6 separate regions of the Homo sapiens genome follow, and all the other regions are linked to region 3. The links are contacts of gene promoters, found by promoter capture Hi-C in blood cells and fetal thymus (Javierre and others, 2016). All regions are on one chromosome and are shown on one strand. Each heading gives the region's core, a stretch centred on a gene start or on the middle of the fragment in contact. The rest is flanking DNA. Distances are from core to core; before and after follow the strand shown.

The links. Contacts are between HindIII fragments. The CHiCAGO score rates a contact against its expected background, and 5 or more counts as called.
Region 1: a contact is called between a fragment that was not itself captured here and the fragment with the promoter of DIAPH3 in region 3, in 1 of 17 cell types (M0 macrophages). The highest score is 6.6, in M0 macrophages.
Region 2: a fragment that was not itself captured here is called in contact with the fragment with the promoter of DIAPH3 in region 3 in 1 of 17 cell types (erythroblasts); the score reaches 5.3 in erythroblasts.
Region 4: a fragment that was not itself captured here is called in contact with the fragment with the promoter of DIAPH3 in region 3 in 1 of 17 cell types (M0 macrophages); the score reaches 5.3 in M0 macrophages.
Region 5: a contact is called between a fragment that was not itself captured here and the fragment with the promoter of DIAPH3 in region 3, in 7 of 17 cell types (non-activated CD4 T cells, monocytes, naive CD4 T cells and 4 more). The highest score is 7.5, in non-activated CD4 T cells.
Region 6: a contact is called between a fragment that was not itself captured here and the fragment with the promoter of DIAPH3 in region 3, in 1 of 17 cell types (M0 macrophages). The highest score is 5.1, in M0 macrophages.

Annotation. Positions count from the first base shown.
Region 1 is chr13:59,972,554-59,975,637 of GRCh38, reverse strand. It overlaps DIAPH3 (diaphanous related formin 3), which reads left to right. Exons shown (of 28, transcript NM_001042517.2): 15 at 1,182-1,286. Among named protein-coding and RNA genes, the nearest start is that of DIAPH3-AS1, 39 kb to the left of the region's middle. The HindIII fragment of the contact is 196 bases long and covers 1,275-1,470 here.
Region 2 is chr13:60,314,044-60,316,868 of GRCh38, reverse strand. No RefSeq gene overlaps it. Among named protein-coding and RNA genes, the nearest start is that of LINC00434, 47 kb to the right of the region's middle. The HindIII fragment of the contact is 5,772 bases long and covers 1-2,825 here.
Region 3 is chr13:60,162,397-60,165,320 of GRCh38, reverse strand. It overlaps DIAPH3 (diaphanous related formin 3), which reads left to right and starts at 1,393. Exons shown (of 28, transcript NM_001042517.2): 1 at 1,393-1,734. The coding sequence starts at 1,555. LOC105370227 (a long non-coding RNA gene) reads right to left here and starts at 1,264. Exons shown (of 2, transcript XR_942001.2): 1 at 1,122-1,264. RefSeq lists an enhancer at 955-1,004. The HindIII fragment of the contact is 7,568 bases long and covers 1-2,924 here.
Region 4 is chr13:59,937,041-59,939,901 of GRCh38, reverse strand. The region is part of intron 17 of DIAPH3 (diaphanous related formin 3); the gene reads left to right. Among named protein-coding and RNA genes, the nearest start is that of DIAPH3-AS1, 74 kb to the left of the region's middle. The HindIII fragment of the contact is 1,694 bases long and covers 493-2,186 here.
Region 5 is chr13:60,412,853-60,415,737 of GRCh38, reverse strand. All of the region lies in intron 1 of TDRD3 (tudor domain containing 3), which reads right to left. Among named protein-coding and RNA genes, the nearest start is that of TDRD3, 17 kb to the right of the region's middle. The HindIII fragment of the contact is 2,561 bases long and covers 39-2,599 here.
Region 6 is chr13:59,920,600-59,923,671 of GRCh38, reverse strand. The region is part of intron 18 of DIAPH3 (diaphanous related formin 3); the gene reads left to right. Among named protein-coding and RNA genes, the nearest start is that of DIAPH3-AS1, 91 kb to the left of the region's middle. The HindIII fragment of the contact is 528 bases long and covers 1,022-1,549 here.

The sequences.
Region 1 (3,084 bases), core at 123-2,622, 190 kb after region 3:
AGCTATAAAGTATGGGGAGAGAGAATGCATGTGTAGGGTTGGGGGTATGTGGAAAATCTCTATTTTCTGCTCAGTTTTGCCGTGAACCTAAAACTGCTCCAAAAAATAGTCTGTTAAGTAAAACCGTAAAGCATTATCTAAACGTTAATTGCAGGGAGGTGGCATAGTTTCATTTGAACTTAGACTCTGAAGGCGGGGAATCTGGCTTTTTAATCTCACATCTTTTACTAGCTATGAGGGACTAGCAACTGCCTCTTAGTGTTATTAAGGACAAAGTAAGATTCCCTTTATAAACTAAGTAAAAATAAAATCCCTTTGTAAACGGTGGAGTTCTACATTGTTGTTATTTTCCTAATTAAGGTTTGAGTGTATTTAAAATGTGGAGGCCACATTTGTGAGATAGTTGCATTTTTTTGATTGATTTTTTTTTTCATTTTTCTTAAGAAAGTCAAATGCTTGTGTTTGTGAGCAAAAAGGAGGTTTTTAGTCATAATAATGGCAAAGTTGAATGTGTTTGAATGCAAGATGAGAACTGGTGATGAGTGGATATATAAATTATTATAGAAAATTCACTGGATTCACCAAATTTTATTGTTTCCTTTTTTTTCCAGAAGGTATTTCACTAGGGACTTTGAAAAATTAATTTATCATTACTTTCCCAAAGATATCAGGAGATATTATGTTGTTACAAGAAAAAAAGTTAGAAACTGAATAGAATGGAGTTGTTTAGTAATAAAAAATATTAAAATGAAATCCTCTAAATCATGTTGATATACTTCAGATAAGTTTCAAGAATAAGTTTTTGCAGGTGGAAGATGCAAGGAATTTGTACAATGCTTTGCTCTCTATTATTTTACACAAAGTCACAATAATATTTAGAGACTTTGAAGAAAAATGCCAATGCTGCAGATAACTGTGGCCAGTTTGCTCTGCAGAGAGAAGGTCACAGACTTGTCTATGGCTTTTTTCTGCCCCCTTGTGAATGAACGATTTTGGTTGGGACCTGGAGGGGCCTAGAGAAAGACTGTAAGTGACTTTTCAAAACTCTATCACTCCTTTCATAAAACCAATTCAGGAATTTGTGTTCTACCGGCAGATCATTCGAGTCACATTTCTATAAGAAGAATAGTGCTTTTCATTTTCATCTTCCTGTTTTTGTTATTATTTTTAATTTGTTTCAGTTTGAAAAAGAGTTTACCGACCACCAAGAAACTCAGGCTGAATTGCAGAAAAAAGAGGCAAAGATTAATGAGCTTCAAGCAGAGCTACAAGCTTTTAAGTCTCAGGTAAAATTCCACTCTGAGTGAATTTGGGTATTAAAAACACAGTGAGGGAGCAAAGGTTATGTTATATCTTCATAGCATCAAAATGTTTAAACTTTAATTTTGCTTGTATATTTTTATAGCATTATTTGTACTGTGTTTTGCTATTTTTTTGTCATTTTTTTCTATATGTATGTATATCTAAGCTTTTACTAATTAATCTGCTTTCTTATGTTTTGTTAGGGTTTTGTTCCTAATGTCACATGTTTCCTAAGTAATTCAGCATAAAGAGTAAGAAAATCTTTTACTCTCAGATTTGTTATTCATCACTGATCTTTATCCCACTACAAGAAATTATTGCTCAAGCTATTTATTTTTTAAAACCTTCAGCCTAGGGGTCCCTTGCAGTAAAAGATAACCTCTAGCTGAATGAGAACATTTTCTGATAATTTTTCAATTTCCAAAGTAAACAGATTTAAAACATGACAAAAAAGAGAGTAAATCTGGATTATGAAGCAGATAGCTCCCATGCACCCTCTACACATAAAACATTTAGATAGCAAGAAATACGTCATCTGCATGCTTTATGTGGATGTAAGTAAGGAGGTAGAATATTCATAGCTAAATTTCTTCATGTAGATTTACGTACAGGATGATGAGCAATAAGTATAGTTTTGCTATTTTCCTTTCATCTTAATTTACAGTTATGTTGAAATAGTCTCAGGTATACTATATCCTATCTTACTGGCAATTTTGTTTTCTTTTAAATGCTTAGTGGATAGTTTTGTTGCTGAGGCTGTCTGGAGATACCTTAAGAGATAGCTATCTGTTAGTATTCAATTTTAGAAAAAAATTAAAATCTCCTATCTACAAGAAAATTATTCTCATTCATCTTCTTTCTTTAGTGCTGCAAGAGGGAAGTATCACATTTTATTGAATTTTTTTTTTTATCTTTCCCATATGGTTCCTTGTCTCTCATATTGAAAGAAACATTTGATTGTGTCTGTACTTCAGACTGAGTTACAGACAGTGGCTGAAATATTTATAACAAGTTTTTCTTGGTCTGGGGTAACGTAAATTTAAGAACTTTCTTTTCTTTTTAATTATGTTCAGTTGAAGGTTTGTTTGTAAATCTCCAGAAAATTCCAGTTTATAAAAAACGTATCCACCATTTTTGAATAAGTTATTGCTGCATAGTGCTTTTACATAAAATGGGAATAAGTGTATGTTTTGAAAGTGAAATTAAATCAAGGAATCTCCTAAATTGTTTTAAATTGTATACAGTGATGACCCATGTTTATGGCTATGAGAAGAAAACCTAGAATTAGATACTTAATATTGGCCACCATATTCATGTTTGAACAACTGGCAAATTCTTTCTTTGGATTCTGGTTTATTTCTTATGAAATGTGGGCATTTATCTTAAGATCCTTCTTTTTGTTCAAAGCTATGCTGACTATGAAGAGTATGAATAAAATATGTTCTGTTATCTGTGATTTAATTCCTTTGCTCCCGTAGTCTCTTCACAACCAGGTAGTTTAGGTGCTGGAGAGACATAGTGATGAGCAAGATAGTCACAGTGTCTGGCCTCCCAAACCATATCTTTAAGTCAGTCTTCACACTTTATCAAATGAACTATTCTAGAGCAGAAATTCAGCCATATCTTTAAGACATTGATAGTTAATTATTAAATACGTTCAAAAGGAAGTATCATCTTTGATCACAGCAACCCAGAGTAACACTGAACTGGTTCTTCTTTATACTTAATGGTTTTGATAAGGCATGCTTTTGATTTGTGGCCTCAACTTCTTTTATAACACTG
Region 2 (2,825 bases), core at 87-2,586, 150 kb before region 3:
TGTTTGTGTTTCAAAGTCTTTCAAAAACATTCTGAAATAATAATTCTGAATAATTCCTTAGAATTCTTTTAGAGTTCTAAATTACATTTCTTTTACTTATTTATTTTTATTGATGTATAATTATTGTACATATTTTGGGGGTACATGTGATATTCAGATTTCTGTATACAATGTGCAATGATCAAATCAGGGTACTGGGATATCCATCACCTCAAAGATGTATCTTTTACCTGTGCTGGAAACATTACAAATCTTTTCTTCTAGCTGTTTTGACATACACAACAAGTTATGTTTAACTTTAATTTTCGTACTATACTATCATTCCTTTCTTTTCCTTTTTTTTTTTTTTTTTTGAGATGGAGTCTCACTCTATCACCCAGGCTAGAGTGCAGTGGCGCAATCTTGGCTCACTGCAACTTCCACCTCCCAGGTTCAAGCAATTCTCCTGCCTCAGCCTCCTGAGTAGCTGGGATTACAGGCGCACATCACCACATCCAGTTAATTTTTGTATTTAAGTAGAGATGGGGTTCCACCAAGTTGGCCAGGCTGGTCTCAAACTCCTGACTTCAGGTGATCCACCTACCTCGGCCTCACAAAGTGCTGGGATTACAGTGTGAGTCACTGCGCCCAGTCTCCTACTGTACTATTAAACACTGGAACTTATTTCTTCTATCCAATTGTATTGTTGTACTCCTTAAGTAGCTTTTCTTCACCCTCCCAACCCTTCCCTTCCCAGCCTCTGGTAACCATCATTCTACTCTCTACCTTCATGAGATCCACTTTTTTAGCTCCTGTATATGAGTGAGATGAGAATTTACAATATTTATCTTTCTGTGCTGATATAGTTTGGATGTTTGTCCCTCCAAATATCATGTTGAACTGCAACCCCAATGTCGGGGGTGGGGCATGGGTAAGAGGTGTTTAGATTCTGGGGGAAGATCCTTCATGAACGGTTTGGTGCTGTTCTCACGGTAATGAGTGTGTTCTTGCTCTGAGTTCATGTGGTGATTGTTTAAAAGAGCATGGCACTTCTTGCCTCTCTCCCGCTCCCTTTCCCACCATGTGATACATCTGCTCCCCCTTCACCTTCTGCCATGATTGAAAACTTCCTGAGGCCTCATCAGGAGCAGGTGCTGGCACCATGCTTCCTGTACAACCTGCAGAACTGTGAATCAAATTAAACCCCTTTTCTTTATAAATTACCCCGCCTCAGGTATTTCTTTATAGCAATGCAAGAATGGCCTAACACGTGTACCTAGCTTATTTAACTGACCATTTCCGACTATTCATCATTTCTCTTCTGTTTTCATGTCTTTGCTTCCCAGTCTAGAGTTCCTGGTCCAGCACTTCCATGCAACCATCCTCAATGAACTTTCCCCTCTTCTCTTACATCATATTCACCTGTCAAAACTCCAACCTCTTTGAACACATATCTGTACCAAAGTTGCTAACCTTTGCTAGGAAAATGATACATAGGACCCATGGGGTGACTGGTTGCATCAAAATTCATGATCATAAACCCCAAATGAACATCCAACAGTGCCCAACTATCCTGCTCATTCATTTCTAGTGGGTTTGTTTTGCTTTCCCACTCTCTGAAATTGCTTTTTTTTTTTTTTTTTTTTTTTTTAGAACAGAGTCTCAACCTGTAGCCCAGGCTAGAGTGTAGTGGCACGATCTCAGCTCATTGCAACCTCCAGCACCCAGGATCAAGCAATCCTCCTGCCTCAGGCTCCCAAATAGCTGGGATTACAAGCATGCACCACCATACCCAGCTAATTTTTGTATTAGTGGAGATGGAGTTTCACCGTGTTGGCTTGAACTCCTGACCTCAAGTCATCTACCCGCCTTGGCCTCCCAAAGTGCTGGGATTACAGTTATGAACCACTGGGCCCAGCCTGAAATCACTCTTTCACAAGTCTTACTTCCCACATTTTCTTATTTCCTCACTCCAGCTGATGACCTTTCCTTGCTGTTGATTGATGGAATAGAATTAAGAACTCTCTTATTCCTGCTACCAAATAGAAAAACCTACCTATTTTTCAGGTTCTCCTGTGTTACTTCTTCCTCTTGTTACCGCCCCCTTCTTGTGACTTGAATACCATCTCCCCTCTCAAGGACTTCATTCATCTGATTATTTCCTCTCTCCAGTATCATCTGTTTCTCTCTGTCTATTGGCTCATCTGATCAGTACAACAGATAGGCTGTGTTTTGTCCTATTTAAAACAACAACCTTCCTTTGCCTCACATTTCCTACCAGGTTTTTCCTTATTTCTCTTTTGTTTTTCGCTGCAAGGTGTCCCCTAACTGGTTCTATACTTACTGTTTTCACTTCTTCACTCCCATTCTCTCTTCCAATAACTTCAGCCTGGTTTCTGCCTCCACCATTCCAACGAAATGCTCCTCTCAAGGTCACTAATGACCCCCAGGTCGCCAAATAAAATGGGCACTTTTTTGTCCTCATTCTGAACTTTTAGCAATTTTTGCCAAACTCGATAACTTTCTGTTTCTAGAAATTCTTCCCGCTCCAGGGGTTCTCTTCTACTCCCTCAGAACCCTTTGCTGGTTCCTTCTTCTCTTTCTTCCACCCCAAATATTGGAGGGCTCCTGTACTCCCTCCTTTTCCCTTGTTTCATCTACAAGCCACCTCCCTCCCTCCGAAGGCAACCTCCTCCTCCTCCATGGCTTTGAGCATCACCACTATACTGCTTACTCTCAAATGTAATCTTGGGCACTCTCCTCTTTCCCCTGAGCTCCAGACTCATACATCCAACTGCCTATATGTCTCCACTTCAATGTCTAGTGTGCATCTAAAAATGGAATTG
Region 3 (2,924 bases), core at 144-2,643:
CATATGCTATGTTATTTAGGCCTGAAAATGCCCCTCTTTCATAGGTATTAGTATAATTACCCCCCTTTTGTAGATGAAGCAGCAAAGAAAGTTAAACGTCATCTCCGGTATCAAATAGCTAGTAAATGGCAGGAATAAAATCTGTATCTGGGTCTGTCATCAAGATATAAGGAACTACTTGTAGTTCTCCTGACCTTGCTGTTCTCCTGTAAGTTTCCCTAAAGATTATGTGCTCTTTGAGGACAGAGCTGTAGAGTCTGGCACAGTAAAACAAATATTAAAAAAGAAAAGCTGTAGTGTGAAGACTTACTGAGAACTAAGGCTCATTTTTTGAACCTCTGTGCCAAACTCCTCAGAGTACCTAGAGTTGTTTCTTGTACCAAAATCAATACTGCATGTTTCCGAGTCTTGGCCTACACCACCTCCATATAATCAGAAGACAGATATCTTAAAGGAATAGTTCCAAGGAAAAGCTCATTTTTAAAGAGGGTATATTGATGTGTTGAGAAAACGGTGTTTGCCTTGTAGCTTGACCTTGGGTTTACACAACAAACTCTTTTGCATGGTTTCAGTTCAAGGCCCTTTGTTATGTGACCTTAAAGTTTCTTCACCTCTATGCTTTCTTGGCCTTGCTCCTGCCTGGAATGGAATGCCTTTTAAATGAATGCCCTGCCACTGTTTCCTGCCTAGTGAAAACCTATGCAGCTTTCCTTTTACCTTTCCAGATCCACTCCTTCAGATTTAATAACTTCCCTTTTTGTTCTCAAGGAACTTCTAAAACAACTGCTATAGACATTTACATTCCTTGGTTAATTGTGTTAGGGTTTGGAAACTACAGGAGACTGTGAGCTCCTGAAGGGCTCAGCCTAGCCTAGCTCTGTCTGATTTTGGGTGGACCCCTCTGCCACCCCAGAGCGAGCACTTAGGCAGGAAATATGTCCAGAAGGCTTCCTTTTGGAGCGTCGTGGGCCCCGTCGTTTCATCCTGCCTAGTACCCCTTCCAGCACCGTACCCAGTCCCAGAACTACTTTTTCCAGCCCCAGACGTGCAAGGAGAGGGCTAGCAGATGGTTTTATATCCCAGCGCTGCTCAAATGGTGGCGCAGGGCCTGTCTCGCCCACCTTCCAGTTCTGCTGGAACCCTATCTGCAAATCCAAAGAAATCCAGGCCGATGACTTCCTCCACGGTCCCCGGCGCTTCTCCAAATCTGACGCCACTCTGCGTCCTTAAGGTGAGCGGCCTGGACCGCCGGAAGGGTTGAGCGGCTGCATAGACAGGCCGCAAGGCCAATCATGTTTCGCAGTGCCCGGAAGGGGCGGTGCCTCAGCGTGTCATTGATCCGGCGGCGCGGGATTGGCCAGTCCCGGGCCAACACGGGTGGCGGGAGTTTTCAGATGTGTTGGCTGCGGCCCCGACTTCAGCGGTTGGGCTAGGCTGTGCTGACTGTTTGGGTGGCGGACCCCGGGAGTAAAACCTGTTGTCGATCCCTCAGCTTCCAGCTTGCGGCTTGCTGAGTGGCCACCTTCTTTCCGGTCCCCGGAGCTGCGGGGAAAGATGGAACGGCACCAGCCGCGGCTGCACCACCCGGCCCAAGGCTCAGCCGCTGGGACTCCCTACCCTTCCTCAGCCTCTCTCCGCGGCTGCCGGGAAAGCAAGATGCCGCGCAGGAAGGGCCCCCAACACCCTCCGCCGCCCAGTGGCCCCGAGGAGCCTGGGGAGAAGCGCCCCAAGTTTGTGAGTATCGCCTGGAGCTAGGGTGGGGCCGCTCCCGCCCCGCCGTAGGGCTGACTGCCGAGGGTGGGCCCACAAGAACTTGGGGACCAAGTTTTATTCTAGAGATCCAGAGGTGCCAAAGATCATAGATTGACAACGACCGGGTCTAGTTGTAGTTGGATCCTGTGACAAATGCCCAGATCTTTGTGTTGCCCCCAAATTTCTTAACGCTGATGTGAAAAGCAGTTCAAACGTGTATATGTATTGACGTCATCTAGGTGGACATTGCATTTTTTAAGTCGAAGTTCTCCCTTCCTCCCTAGTGTAAGAGGGTATAAGATATATCAAAATGAACTTTTAGGTGACAGGTTTTTTTTCTGCTTATTATTTTAATAAGAACTTTTAATTACATATAAGAACTTTTAAGGTAGATATAATTTTCCAAGTTGAAACAGCTAGTTTTAGAACTTGGCGGGTGGTGTGGTCACTGCTAAAGAATGTTTTGCTTAGCTTGGAAAGAATTCTAAATATTTGAAACTTGCTATTCTGGTTTGCTTGTGTTTAACACTTAAGGAAAGTGTCATGATTAACACCTTGTCTTTTCGTTGGTGTCAACTAGTGAAAGTATAGGCAGTGATGATTATTTTGGGGTTTGTGTGTGTAAATAAATCACATAGAGGGTTGATAGATTTGGGATGAGTCCAACAGAATTGAAATTTCACATTGACCACTCCACCATTTTCCTTAGGAATATGGAAAAACTGTGTGTGTGTGTGTGTGTGTGTGTGTGTGTGTGTGAGAGAGAGAGAGAGAGAGAGAGAGAGTACAGCATTTGCCTTATGTGGGCAAGTAAAAATTGTGAGAAATTTAAGTCATGATTCACAAATTAAGGGAATAATGGTTTGTGAACCAGTTGCTAACTATAACATTTAGTTAAAAATAATAGTTGAATAAGACTGAGAGCCCATATTCTGATACATGAGATATATCAGAATACTGAAAATGAGAAACAGCATAGATTAATTGAAAATGAGGAACAGCATAGATTAATTATGCCAAATTAAGTATCAAAATGGTCATAGGAATAGTGACATTTTGCAGAAGGATCAAGTATGGACTTGATCATTATCTTGACAAATCTGAAGAATGAATAGGACAGAGTTAACTTCCCAATGAAAGATTTTTGCCTAATGTGAGAAGAATCCACTAAG
Region 4 (2,861 bases), core at 90-2,589, 230 kb after region 3:
TCCATTTTTCCTGTGGGATTCCTTAGTGATACACACACACACACACACACACACACACACACACACGCCTCATTCTCCCTGTAGATACATATACATATGTATTGTTTAACTAGAAAATAAAAGGTGACTTTGCCTTAGTCAATATAAGTCAATATGTATATACAGGGATCCACAACAAACCTAGATAAAGAGCCATTTCATTGTTAACTTGGCTTTTGTCTGAATATTCCAAATACATCTCCCTGGTCTCTGGTCCTGGGTAAATGGTTTGAGGCTTTTAAGCATAAGGATGGCTTGGGTTTCCTTTCCAGAATCTAATTCTATACATTATCCATGTGCCACCTGTCTTTATGCGACAAAGAACAAGAAGCTGAAGAGAGTCAGTTTCTGTGTAGGAAAAGATGAAGATCTTCCTTTCATGTAAAAGTCTGCCCTGGCTTTATCACTATGCACCTTTAATGACGGAGTAATTGATATGGGCTACTATAAGCTTAGAAATCTGAGAGCTGGGTATTCAAGGAAATAGAAATGCGATTAGGTTCTTGAAACACTGAATTGCCCAAGAATGAAATTCTTTGTACAATTTGGAGAGGTAATCTGGGTGAGAGGTAGAAGAGAAATCGTTATTTTGTAACAGCATTATCTATATCATTATATAAATAGTCAAACCAATGTATAAGTTTGAGGTGTGCAGTGAATAAGGACCAACTCTGCCTTTGAACACCTCTTGGGAAAGAACGTATACATTTTAAATGATCCCAGTTTGGTCTGATTAATTTTACAGCCACTTAGATTTTTGTTCTTCATTTGACAAAGCAAAATTTTAACTACATGATTCCTACATAAATTTTCAAATCAAGAGGTCAAATTAAAATGAGTGATTTGAAATCAAGCCTCATAAAGAAATTTTTTTCTATTTTTAAATGTTGTGGTTAAGAATACATAACAAAATTTTACCGTTTTAACCATGTTTAACTGTACAGTTCTGTGGCATTAGCAACACTAACGTTGTGCATCCATCAGTACCATCCGTCTTTAGAACTTATCTTCTCCAGCTGATACTCTGTACCCATTAAACACTAACTCCCCATTCTCTACTCTCTCAGGAAGATTATTTTTAAAAATATCATTTTCTAATCACAATATAAAATGAATCCTGCTAGTCTTCCTTTAACCTCACCTCCTTATACTACTAGGGAAGTGTATATGGAACATTTGGGTTGCAGTTAGATGGTACAGTGGAAAAGAGGTCTGTATGTGAGCTGGGCATTTTATTAATTTTTTTTTTTTTTCCAAACAAGGTCTGCCTCTGTTGCCCAGGCTAGAATGCAGTGGCATGATCTTAGCTCACTGCAGCCTCAAACTCCTGGGCACAAGTGATCCTCCCACTTCATCCTCCTGAGTAGCTAGCACTACAGGTACATACCACTATGCCCAGCTAATTTTTACGTTTTTTGTGGAGATGAGTACTCATTTTGTTGCCCAGGCTGGTCTTGAAATCCTGGCCTCAAGCAATACTCCAGCCTTGGCCTCCCAAAGTGCTGAGATTACAGGCCTGTGCCACTGCAAGCCGGGTGTTATAAATAGCTATATAGGATGTACACAACACAAGCTCCAGCCAGAAGGTAAGATAACATAGAACTACAAATTTTAACAGCCCAGATTAATAAAAATTCCAAATTCAGGAGATTGTGGGGACAGAAACTAGCACAGAATAGTTTATTCTAGAACACAGATCAGGCAAATAATGGAACTCCAATTAGCTAGACCAATTGGAGACCAGAATGATCTGGAATGCTAACTGGGGCATTATTCTTAGAGCACAGAGAAATAAAGATTTAATAACTGAGAAACTGGGCAAGTGACTTGAATTCCCAACTGAGCTATCAAAAACAAGAACGTAAAAGCAGAGAGAGAGAGACAGGATAACTACGTATCAGAAAGTCCAGATAATAAAAGTTGAGTTCAGTTGAACAAATACCTAGGTATTGTCTCTACCTTCTCCTCCTCTTTTCTACCCTGGCACACCCACACTCCATTCCCCACACAATAAAGCATTTTCTTTCTTTTTTTGCTTCCCGTCCCCTCCCCTGCCTCCCCACCTCCCAAAACAAGATCACAAAATTATAGGCATGCTGTCATCAAATATAGAAGTAAGTTTATTGTAAAATTCTACTACTTAAGCTTGACCATTTTGCTGTCAGTCAATTCTTTTTCAGTATTTTGGAATAATGGTCATTTTTGTGTCAGATCACTTCTCTTCTATCAAGTTTTGGATAATCACTCTGGCTGTTTTGATGATTGTGTTCTGTTTTCCCCAGGAATATGCCAGGATGGTCTGCCTATGATTTAATGTGGCATTGCTTTTTATCTGTTTGTTAATATAATGTATTGTTACTTCTTCTAGTCTCAAGTTGCTTAGCATTGTGTGTACAAATACTAGTAAGCTGGTTTATCAACTCTTTCCATTCGACACCATGCTAGAGATCCTGAATTACCTGTGTTATCATTTGGATTTAGTTCTTCTAAATTAGGAATGTACACTGAGTTCTCACTCATGACTTTTCTCCTCTCTTGTACTTTCTTTTGTATATGTCTTCGTATGTCATACATTAACTTTCAGAGTTGGTTTTGTAATTTATTCTAGCAGAGATATATTTCTACCATCAGAGAACATATGAGAGAATGTTATACGTAAAAATAGTGGAAAAATTATTATTATTATGTTTTTTTTTTTTTGAGATGGAGTCTTGCTCTGTTGCCCAGGCTGGAGTGCAGTGGTGCAATCTCAGCTCACTGCAAGCTCTGCCTCCCGGTTTCAAGCCATTCTCCTGCCTCAGCCTCCCGAGTAGCTGCGACAA
Region 5 (2,885 bases), core at 70-2,569, 250 kb before region 3:
AGTTCCCGGAAGATCCATCAAGGCATCTGTACAAAGCTTGCCCATTTGAGAAAAGAAAGCAATTTTATTTGCATACATCTTACAATTTGATATTAATCATGTTTTACAGAAAAATTAATGTACTCTTCAAAATTCTCATATTCTTTAAGTGTGTGAATGAGTTATAAAGATTGCATTGGTCTGTTTAGTTAGCTAACATTGAGGGCCTAGTTTTCCCAATAATGGCATTTGCCTATTATTGCTTACATTTGTTAAATGAGTATGTTTGCTTATTACCAATATGTTAATTATAGTCCTGATACACCCAAGTGGTTGGCTGAAGCGTAAAGATTCTGATGAAATAGTAATGTAATCAGAATAATATAATCTGATAATAAAATAATAATATAATCAGAATAACATCAAAAATGAAAATTGTGCACTGGATCCCGGTTGATATGAATGTCCACAGAGTGGAATTGGTAATTCTCAAAGTTTCAGAACACAAATCTAAAAAGGAAAAATATGAATGAGAATGGCAATGAATATTGTAAAACAGGATCTCATTAGGCCCTTCATGCCTAGTTCCCTAAACACTGTTATAAAACATCAATCTTGGTCAAATCAACACATGAATTTTTTTTTCATAAGTTCAATTTCTTATATAAAATAATCAGTATGCTGATGACCAATCAGTTTAATTTAAATATGATTGGCTACCAAATATATTTTGATATCTAAGAACAAACTCCTCCTATATTTTACTCAAGACTGATGTGTTTTAACAGGTTTTTCAACCTCATATTCACCCTTTTCCCTCTGTTTAAGCAGTACTGATTTTATTTTTTAAAAACAAAAACAGAAAAAAAAAACCACTGTCTGTTGTCTAGGTATTCTACAGAATCCAAAAGTTGTCCAAGTGTGATAGGAATGCTCAATTGAAACCAATGAAGGATTTCTATCTGCCCTAGGATATAATGGAAAGTTCTATTAAAATTAGTAGACCATTTCAAAACACCTGATAACTCTGTATTTGACAAAAAGCCCCCACTGCAAGTACTGACACATTCCTATCAAATAGTTAGGATTTACTAATTTATGAGGCAGCCCTATTCATACTAGTCACTACAAATAAGGATAAGAACAAGGATTGTGGTTTTCTTGGCAAGTTATTTTTGACAAATTCTGGTACCAATAGCATATACTACTTGTTCCAACTTCAGTTTTTTCTAAGTAATAAAGAATTAATATATCTATTTTACTAATTACTTAGGGCAGAGATTGGCTAACTTTTCCTGTAAAGAACCAGATAGTAAATATTGCAGGCTTTCCTACAATATTTGATTTCTGTCACAACTACTCTTTGCTCCTGTAGCACAAAAGCAGCTACAGACAGTAGGTGTATGAGTGGTTCTGGCTGTGTTCTACTAAAATGTTATTTACAAAAACTGGTAGCAGGCCAGATTTGGCCCACTGGTCATAGTCTGCCAACTCCTTAGGATAAAGCTATATAATCTTTCTTTCTTCAAAAACTAGATGTAATAGACATGTCCTTCTCTCAAAAAAAATGTATCTGGACTTAAAAAAAAACGTACATTGTCTCACAAATTTACATATTGCACAACTGGTTCCACACATTTAATTTTTGAGGAGGGCAACACATTATTCTTTAAGTGAAATCCTTATTTATAAAAATATAAGGCAAATACTTAATAACAATGCAACATTTCAACAAGAATATGAAAATACCTCCCTTCAGCTGAGACTTAAGTTCATGTCCATATTAAGAGACTGAATATTGACAGTTTCCTCTCTCAAATTTCTATTCTTCCTGTACAAGTGAAATAATGTAATATTATGTGAAATATTCTACCTGTACCTTTTATCTTTAATTTGAGACACTAATATTTATAAGATTATAAAATGCTAATGGTATGATATATATATTTGAGATTAAAAATCCATAAGATATAAAGATTTTATCTTTATTGAAGTAACACTCTCACAGGCTATATAAGGTAATCTAAAATAGAGTAAAGGGCATCAACTTTTTCCAAAGGTGACACAAGATCAGAAATTCATGTGTGCAAGTAACATGAATGTATTTAACTGACAACACTAATTTAAGTGAGTCCAGTCTTGACATACAACAGCAAGAACATTAAGTATTTACTGGGCATTCAGCATATGCCAAGCAGTATTCTAAGCACTTTGTGTGTATTAACTTATTAATCCTCCTAACAATACTATGAAGTAGGTATAATATTGACACCATTTTATAGATAAGCAAACTGAGACATGAGCAGTTAAGAAATGTGCCCAAGGTTATAGCTAATCTGTGGCAGAACCAGGACTGATCTCAGCTCAGGAGAATTGGTCTTCAAGAGCCCATGCTCGTAAACACCAGCCATACAGCTTCTCAAGCAGATATATATCTAACTGAATATAAAAGGTACATGGCAGTGTTTTTGTAACTATTTTTTTCCTCAGTAATCTCTCACAATAATTCAGTTTTGTGATGAAATTCTAATTAATTATAATTAACTAATTCTAATATAAATGTTTATTCAAAATCATTTAATTTACACATCTCAGTTTCAAACACAAAGTGATTCAAGCTTTTGGGCCCATTCCTTGGCAGCATTTTCACATGCTAACTTCCTGTTGACCTATTAGTTCATATATATTGGGTACTTAGGCAAAAAAAAAAAAAATTGGGAGTACAGGGATACTGCAGGGAATACCAGGCAGGCCGTAACAGCAAAAAGCAAGTTGAAAATAACAAAAACATTCAGTCAAACATGAGCCTGTATTTCAACTTTTAAAGTACGCATCTTAGATATGTAGAGATCTATAATCATATTTTACATATACTTTTGCTTAAAGCATTACTTTAAGCAAATGTT
Region 6 (3,072 bases), core at 36-2,535, 240 kb after region 3:
CTTGGACCAGTGAAGATGGGAGTGGAGTTAATGTCACTTTTTGGGGTGGAAGCATTTCATTGGTGGTTGAAGAAGCTCCCCCTGGCACCCAGAATGGCATTCAGAGTGGTGTCCATCATCCTGATATAGGGATCATAATTAATAATTAACAGAAACTGGTGTGATGAACATATGGTCTTCATGAGAAATAATTTGTGTGTGTTTGCTTAGACCACAGAGATTTTGTGTTTTTTGTTTTTTGCATGATGTACATATTTTAGGGAATTTCCCTCCCAAAAGAACTTTGTCTAGGTTCAAAGCACTGTGTTTTGAACTATGTCAGATAATGTCAGAAAGTTCCGTATCTGTGATCTAAAAGAGATGATTTTATTTTGAAAAATGTTCATGACCTGCATTACAAATTACTAGTGTTGATTCTAAATAGTCTTGTAATAGTTCCCGAAGAAATATAATGTTTAATAGAATTCTTTCTGAATGGGTCAGCTGTGGTAAGTTAGCCTAAATGTCCATCTCATAGTTAAATAACTTTTTGAACACGGTTATTTATTTATGTATTACAGAACATGTTCTACATGGGATTTCAAATTTAATTAAAACAGCTAATAAATACTGATTACCTTTGTTTACTAGTTCTGTATTTGGCCCTTTAATCTTCACTACAACCCCACCAGGTGGGTATTAGCATTAACAGTATAGGTAGGGAATCTGGTGGGTGTAGCAGTTAAGTGATTTCAATAAGATTGCTCATTTTGAAAATATTTTAATGTTTATATAGTTTAATGTATATCTGTTCCTTTTTACAGAAAACAGAATAACATTTTTATGGAGAAAGATCCTGTTTGCCTTGTTTAATTTAGCTAGAGTATATATATCCTATTCATTTAATTGAGAAACATGTTTTAAAGTGTAAGATGAAAAGATACAGAATTTATACCATGTCATATTATGATGTAATCCATTTTAAGATTATTCTTCTCCTCTCTGATGGTAGCAGGCATTATGATTTAAGCTTTAAGAAGCTTTAGCAGCCTATGATCTTCATTGTAATTATAGTTTTTTGTCATGAAATTTAGAGTTTTGAGAGTCTGAATTCTGAGATGAGTCTTAGAACTGTTTTGGAATGAGATAAATTGAAATAAAACAGTGGTCAGTAGTAGAATACTGATACTAAAATGGAAAGGTTCATTTCTAAAGTTCATTGAAGAGAATATTATGGGTATGTACTAGATTAGAACTTTGGAGAAAGAATCTAAAAGTCATTCATTTATCTACTTGTCTATTTAAAAGTGGTTTTGGTTTCCTATATTTTTGAGTTCATAAAGGTTTCCAGACACTAGGATCAAGAGAAGGCTTAGGAGTTTTATAAGTTTCATTTGTTTATGATTTTTTATATTTAAGGTTGTTTTCTGCAAGCAAGTACAGCTTAACTTATTTCTGCCTATTTTTTTTCTCTTACCTAATTGCCCTGGCTAGGACTTCAAGTAATATGTTGAATAGAAGTGGTGAAAGTGGAGATCCTTATCTTCTTCCAGATTTTATAGGAAAAGCTTTCAACTTTTCTGTTTGTTATGATGATAGCTGTATGTTTGTCATATATAACGCATATATTTATTGTGTTGTGACACATTTCTTCTATACCTAATTTGTTAAAATTCTTTATCATAAAAGAATGATGAATTCTGTCAAATTATTTTTCTATCTATTGAAATGATTATATGGTTTTGTCTTCCATGCTGTTAATAGGGTGTGTCACATTTACTGATTTGCATGTTTTGAACCATCCTTGCATCTCTGGAATGAATCCCATTTAATCATGGTGAATGATCTTTTTCATGTATTGAATTCATTTTGTTGAGAATTTTTGCTTCAGGGTTATTGACAAGTAGCTTTCCTTTGTTGCATTCTTGCAGGTTTTGGTTTCAGGGGAATGCCAGCCTTGTGGAGTGAGTTTGGCAGTATTCTCTACTCTTTGATTTTTTTTGAATAGTGTGATAAGAATTGGTAATAGTTTTTACTTACATGTTTGATAGAATTAAGCAGCAAATGTATTAGATCCTCAGCTTTTCTTTGGTGGGAAACTACTTATTACTAATTTCAGTTTCCTTACTGGTTATTGGTTTATTCAGGTATTGTATTGTTTTATAATTCAATCTTGGTAAGTTATAAGTTTCTAGGATTTTATCCATTTTTTTTCTAGGTTATCCAATTTATTGATGTATAAGAAATTATTCAAAATAGTCTCATATAATTCTTTTTTTATTTTTGTGGTGTCAGTTGTAATATCTTTTCATTTATGACTATATTTATTTGAGTTTTCTTAGTCTAAATAAACATTTGATTATTTTATTTTTTCCAAAAATGAAATTTTTGGTTGTTTTTTCTTTCTTTTTTTTTTTTGGTATTTTCTGGTCTCCATTTCATTTATTTCTGCTTGGATCTTTAATATTTTCTTGCTTCTACTAATTTTGGGTTGAGTTTGTCTTGTTTTTCTAATTCCTCCAGGTGCAATGTTAGGTTGTTTGAGATTTTTTTTTTTTTAGTGTAGACATTTATTTCTGTAAACTTCTCACTTAGATCTGCTTTTGCTATATCCCATATATTTTGGTATGTTGTGTTTCCCTTTTCAATTTTCTAAATACATTTTTATATTGAAGACTTTTAATTTCTTCATTGACCCATTGGTTATTTAGAAGCATGTTGTTTAGTTTTCATGCATTTGAAAAGTTTTTGAATTTTCTTCTGTACTGATTTCTAGTTTTATTCCATTGTGGTCAGAAAATATACTTGATATGATTCTAGTCTCCTTAAATTTGTTAAGACATGTTTTGTGGCATAACATATGATCTGTCCTGGAGAATGTTCCATGTGCAGTTGAGAGAAGGATGTTTATTCTGATTTTGTTATATGAAATGTTCTGTAAATATCTGTTAGGTCCTTTTGGCCTAGAGTTCATTTTCTAGTTCATGTTTGTTGATTTTCTGTCTAGATGACTGTTTTATTGCTGAAAATGAGGCATTGAAGTCTCCTAATATTGTATTGCAATGTATGTCTCCCTGTAGATCTATTTTCTTT